Regions from separate parts of the Homo sapiens genome. Here region 2 is linked to region 1. Evidence: promoter capture Hi-C in human tissues and cell types (Jung and others, 2019). All regions are on one chromosome and are shown on one strand. Each heading gives the region's core, a stretch centred on a gene start or on the middle of the fragment in contact. The rest is flanking DNA. Distances are from core to core; before and after follow the strand shown.

What was found. The method cuts DNA at HindIII sites, captures the fragments that hold promoters and counts their contacts. A contact is called where the count stands out against the background at its distance.
Region 2: a fragment that was not itself captured here is called in contact with the fragment with the promoter of CXXC4 in region 1 in 1 of the 25 tissues and cell types used here (H1 embryonic stem cells).

What each region holds. Positions count from the first base shown.
Region 1 is chr4:104,493,140-104,496,370 of GRCh38, forward strand. It overlaps CXXC4 (CXXC finger protein 4), which reads right to left and starts at 1,755. Exons shown (of 3, transcript NM_025212.4): 1 at 1,562-1,755. The region is part of intron 1 of CXXC4-AS1 (CXXC4 antisense RNA 1); the gene reads left to right. The HindIII fragment of the contact is 3,942 bases long and covers 672-3,231 here.
Region 2 is chr4:104,704,017-104,707,130 of GRCh38, forward strand. No RefSeq gene overlaps it. Among named protein-coding and RNA genes, the nearest start is that of CXXC4, 210 kb to the left of the region's middle. The HindIII fragment of the contact is 3,135 bases long and covers 1-3,045 here.

The sequences.
Region 1 (3,231 bases), core at 505-3,004:
CTGGGTATTTGCATTAATCTCCTTGCTTACAGGCCATTATTATGCTTTAGGAAGAGGTATTTTAGTTGTTTATTACAGAGGGAGAAGTACATCACAGCCTTTTAAGAAGCAAAGCAAAGGCATAAAGTGTATATTCACTTAAAAAACCAGTTTCTTTGTTTCCAGATTTTTTGGCCAGAATATCTTTTTGTGACATCTTTTGAAGCCCATAGATTGGTCTAGAATGCAGAGTTCAGGGAATTCTACATGGGGGCCCAATAGTCTCCGTCTCAAATATTCAGAGTTCAAAATGGTTATCAATTATAGTAATTATGCTTATAATTAGGTTAATGAACCAGTTATGCCCAAACTCCAAGTGCAAAAACTTCAAGACCTACTGATGAGGTGCTCTAAAAAGAGGGGTTTATGTAAACAAATCCCTATTAGGCAAAGTAAATCAAGATAAGGAACCTCACCCCAGGCTGGATTAGAAGCTTGCAGGCATCTTTCAATCACAGCAAGTCCCTAATCACTCAGGAACCACCTCTGTGGTTTCGCATTAGGGAAAACTGCTGCCTTCTCAGGTCTGAGGGCAATACAAAAGGTGCCCCCAAAATGCTCTTGGCTAAATATTCTTGATGCTTGGAAGGGGTGAGGGAAGACACAGCAAGAATATGCATATAGCTTCAGTTTCTGCGAATCACATTGTAACTGCAAGACCATAATAACTGCTACTCAGTAAAAACTAGTTATGTCAACCATGCATTAGATATCATCACATTGAGTGGAGGGAAAATTTTCAACCTTTTAGTCTTTTGACCTTGTTCCAAATAAATAAATAATTTAACGTCCCTTTTTTAGAGTCTTAGAGTGGTGTTTCCAAACACAAGCTTTCCTTGCTTTTCTGATTGCCATCACCATCCCTCTTCCTACCTCAAGGTTTAATACCACCAGAAACTGTAGAAAATGATTATGCCCAGTATCCAGGTCATTATTGTTTAATCAATGCATCTCTGGAGCATGAAAAAGGTATCTAAGCCACAGCTATTGTTTGGATTTTATTTAAAAACAAAATAAAACACACACAAATAACTATAGTTCTATGCCAAAGCTAAATTAGAGATCCATACTTCATGATCCTGTTTTGCCTTTAAACAATGTGACTTTACATGCCTAATACTGTATGTCTGGTCTACCAGAGACATAGAGATCAAAGGTCATATTTAACATTCAGGAGGAGGGGCGGGTGCAGACTAATTAATAAATTAATACAGCGACGCTTTTTCTTGCTGGAGTCCAGCATTAATAATCTACTTTCACAATCCCAACGGACAGCAAACATTTAAGAGAAAAAAAAGCCAGAGAAAGAGAAAGAACAATCACTTACCAGTCTCTTTTTATTTGGGGAGCCTTAGAATTTGCAGACGCTGCCAGTCTGCCTTTAATTAGTTGCACATCACCCCCTAACACAAAGAAACACAAATCCAGATGTGTCTTGGCAGCTCCCAATTACAACTTTAATACTTGTAAACAAACTGTTGGGGGGGGGGGGGTAAATAAATATGCGGATCAAAAAAAATACCTGTAAATGGCTTTTTTTTCTTGTTGCAGAGAGAAGGAGGAGGAGATGGTGTTAGTGGTGGGGGTGGAAGGAGGAGGAGGTGGGGGGAGAGGAAAGAGTCGAGTGTGAGTGTATGTGTGAGAGCGCGGGTCTGTTGTCGGTGGTCTCTCCTCTCCCAGCGCGTTGCTCTCCGTCCGTCTCCAGTCGCTGTGTGCGAGGGAGGGAGGGAGCCGGGGAGTCTCTCCTCTCTCTCTCCCCTCTCTCTCTCTCTCTCTCTTCCCCTCTCTCTCACCCTCCCCCCTTCTCTCTCTGTTTGTGTGTGTGCGAGTGTGCGGTTGCTGGGGGAGGGGAGCCACAGAGAAAGGCGAGGGAGGAGGTGTGGAGGCTGGGGGCGGGGGCGCGGGGGTGGGGGTGATTGGCGCCGAGGTGAGGAGGACGCAGGGACGTGGACACCTACTGATGATTGGCTGCAAATTACACGGGGAACAAGAGGCGCACGCGGGCCAGCGCTCCTTTTCACAAATCCTCTCCTCGGCAGAGGAGCCACGTTTTCCCTGCTCGCCTGCGGATCGCCCTCCCTCCTCGCGCCCGGCTCTCCGGCTCAGCCCAGCACACAGGGCTGTTGATTATTTTCTTTTGCTCTCGGAGATAATTGTTTGGAAGGGTTGGAAAGAGGGCGTTTCCGCCACTCTGCGTGTGGGGTGTGTGTGTGCGTGCGTGTGCGGGTGTGTGTGTAAATAAACTTGTCTGGGATTTCTGGCTGGGTTGAGAAGAGCAATACAAGAAACAGAGAAAAGGTCATGTTTGTTTGAAGAATGCTCTTAGTTCGTACCCAATGGCATGGTTTTAAATAAATTTCCTGGTGTACCCAGGAAGACTTTAAAAAAAAATACCATTTAGATCTTTAAAGTAAGGGAAAACGGACCGGTGTGGTTCTTCAGACCCTCGAAGTACTATTATGCCAGAATGTAAAAAATCGGTGATATGATGCTTGGCCAATTTCAAAATCCATCTCAATCTCTGTCTCTCTTCTCTACTCTTCTCTCTCTCCTCCCAAAATCCTCTTTTACTATTCCATCTGGTAGTTCCAAAGAATAAATCAGATTTTTAACTCACTGCCCTATTTTTTAATTTCAAACTTTACTTAAACAAAAACTTTTGTCTTTCAGTCTATTTTAGAATAGTATGTAATTAACATTTCACTTCTTGCCACTTGGGAAAACATAGTTTATGAATTGAAACATAAATATTGTACGGCACGTCAAATATAAATAAAACTCGTTCATAAATGCAGCTGTAAATTAACCTCTTCACTGCTGCCTCAAATAAAATATTTGTGGACACATGCTATCCTACTATTAAAGTATACTCTAGTGGAAATAGTTATAAGATACAGAATTATGAATACTTTTGAATAATTTTTTTTCTAAGAGCAAAACAGTGGCTAAGGTAAGTTATAGAGTAGGAAAGAAAAAACTTAAGATTATTTAAATTGGTGTTATCAAGCAGAGTACAAGTTTTGTATTAAAATTAAGTGTTTATTCTAGAGTAATGCAATATTAATTGTTCAGATAAGTGAGGAAAATATAATGTTTTGTTTCTTTAATAAGAAAAAAAAGCTGAAAAGACATTTTAAACCATTTTGTATTTGAATTTTCAAAAGATAGACTTTGACCATATCAAGACATTAC
Region 2 (3,114 bases), core at 228-2,727, 210 kb after region 1:
GCCTTAGAAAAGTGAGTGGTGGCCTTGTAGAGATGCAAGCCACTTAATCAACAAATAAAGCTTTAGAAAACCAAAGAGGAGACAGCTGGCACTGTAACATTCTGTTTTGATGGTGATTTCATTACATTTTGGAAAATGCATACTTGACTTAAGCTTTAGTTGCTGAGAGTTCAATGAAAGAGGCCGACACTATATTTGTTTTGTGCTAAATGAGTATATTTGATGAAACACCTGATTTCTGTAACAATAACCACTACATATACCATAAACATGGGTAGCTACATTTATAGATTAATTAATGATAAATATGCACAGAGAAATCAGGCACTTAGCTAGACACTCAGCCTTCAAATCATTTTTCTTTAACCGATACGGCACTTGTTGAAATTCTACAAGCACATTTGCTTGAGTTCTCATTGAAATAATTTGGTTCATTTTTCAATTGACTTTTCTCACAAGTCAGAGAAGATTTGCCATGCTAAGGAAATCAGACTTACTACGCCAAAGAAATACAACATTTAGGGTAGACTATTTGGGTAATCATGTATTCTTAAAAGAAGAAAGCTTTTCTAAATAGAAATCAGAACAATGAACCTTTCAACAAAGCAGTGCATAGATAATTATTAAGATTACAAATATGCATGAAAACTAGAGGTAGCCAAAGATTGTCCACAGCTACTAATATGTTTTGACAGGACTATAATTTTGCTATACTTCAACAAGAGTTAAGGCTAGTCATGAAGTACAAACTGCGGGTTTGCCTGTTTTATATACTGAACAAAGAAAAATAGAAAAACAATTTCATTGAATCAGGATCAAAAGCATATATCAAGGGTATTTAGTCCTTAGAAATAAGCCGGTTCTCAAAAGTACTTTTAAAAACTTAAATAAAGCAAATTTTAATTATTCATATGAATAAAGAATTAATACTTAAGGTGAATTTTAATGTTCAGTAGATATGTATAATTATGTGTCTATTGTATTGACTTTATATACCGTTATGAAAGCAGATAAGAGAATGTAAAGTTTGTTTCTTCTGCTAAGTAATGTTGATTACATCATCACTGGTATTTTAAAAAATATGTATTTCACGTGATATTGAACATCAATGTAATTTTTTTCCTTTTCTATCCCAACAACAATACATACAAGTGAAACAACTTAGAATATATATATACAATATGGGTACAGTTGTTTGCCATCACTATGAATTCTAATTTTTGCATTAGGATCTTTTAGAATGAGAAAATTCCGAATTATAGAAGGATTCAGAGATTAAAATGCACTTTTATTGAATCCCTCTTTTTTGCTCCTCTCTCCCTCTGAAGTTATCAGAAAGCTTATCACTTGTCAGTATAAACACATAAGGTTAGGAAAAAATAGCATGAGAATGGTATATATTTATTTTTCTGGACTAAATAACATTGATGACATATTTAAATTGTTGGTCATTGTCCAGTTCACCTTGCTATTGACTTATTTTCATGTAAAAGTACTGGCTTGACAGTTGCACAGTTGTGTAAAAACATTAAATACTACTACTATTACTAACAGCTAACATTTGAGGATTTAGCATATGCCAGGCACTGTATTAAGTGCTATACATATTTCTTCTGATTTTCTCAACAAAACACACTATAGGGCAGGGGCAATGTTATTATCCATAATTTGTATATAAAAATATTTGAAAATACTAAGTGTAAAGAGTCTATATAACTAGCACAATGTTACACAGCAGAACATGGATAGAAATCCACACAATCTGAGGGACTTCAGGACCATACTTTAAACCACTATGCTAGCATGTTGTAGATAAAATATGCTGTTGATGCAATATTTAAATGCAAATAAGCATTCACATAAAAAATAAGCCACACTGCAATTGTTTATGGACATGATGAGTTTAAGAATGATGAGACCTACAATAATAAAATCTTAGAATATAATGTGTTACAGAGTCATCCAAGTCTAACACATTTTTACTGACTCTTATCATGGGCCCAACATTGTCCTCACCATTGTAGATATAGTAGTTAAACAAAGTTCTGCTTTTATGAATCTAACATTGCAATTAGAAAGCACACAAGAAGAATGGAAGTTTTTAGGGAATGACAAGGGCTATGGGGGAAAAAAATAAAACAAAGAGCTATAACAATAAGAAGGAAGAATTCCTTTAGCAAAAGTAGCTAGGTAAGGCTGCTCTAAGGAGGAAGCCTTTGAGTAAATGCTGAATGACAAGAAGGAGTCAGCAGTGGAAGCAGGTGGGAGCCAAGTGTTCCAGCAGAGGCAACAGCAAATGCACAGGTCTGAATTTGACAAGGAGTTTAGTTTTCTTTCTGGAAAAGAAAGATGGTCAGTATGGCTGGGACATATGGAGCAAGAAGGAAAAGGACAGAAACAGAGAAGGCAGAGTGGATCATTTAGGACCTTATAGGCAATGCAAAGAAATTTAGAGTTTATACTTTTATATCAAGTGAGAGAATGCTAGAATGGATTTAGATGGAGAAAGCAAAACTTCATTTAGGTTTTAAAAATCTCAGTCCCAGGCAAGATGGCCAAACAGGAGCAGCTCCAGTCTGCAGCTCCCAGCGAGACCCAATGCAGAAAACGGGTGATTTCTGCATTTCCATCTGAGGTACCTGGCTCATCTCATTGGGACTGGTTAGACAGTGGCTGGAGCCCACGGAGGGCAAGCCAAAGTATGGTGGGATGTCACCTCACCCGGAAGCACAAGGGATTGGGGAACTTGCTCCGCTAGCCAAGGGAAGCCATGAGTGAGGGACAGTGCTATCTGGCCCAGATACCATGCTTTTCCCACTGTCTTCAAAATCCACAGACTAGGAGATTTTCTCAGGTGCCTACACCACCAGGGCCCTGGGTTTCAAGCACAAAACTGGGCGGCTGTTTGGGCAGACAACAAGCTAGCTGCAGGATTTTTTTTTTTTTTCTGTAACCCCAGTGGTGCCTGAAACACCAGCAAGACAGAACTGTTCACTCCCCTGGAAAGGGGCCTCAAGCCTAGAAGCCGAGTGGTCTTGCTCAGTGGATCCCACCCCCATGGAGCCCAACAAACTAAGATCCATAGGCTGGAAATTCTCCCTGCCAGCACAGCAG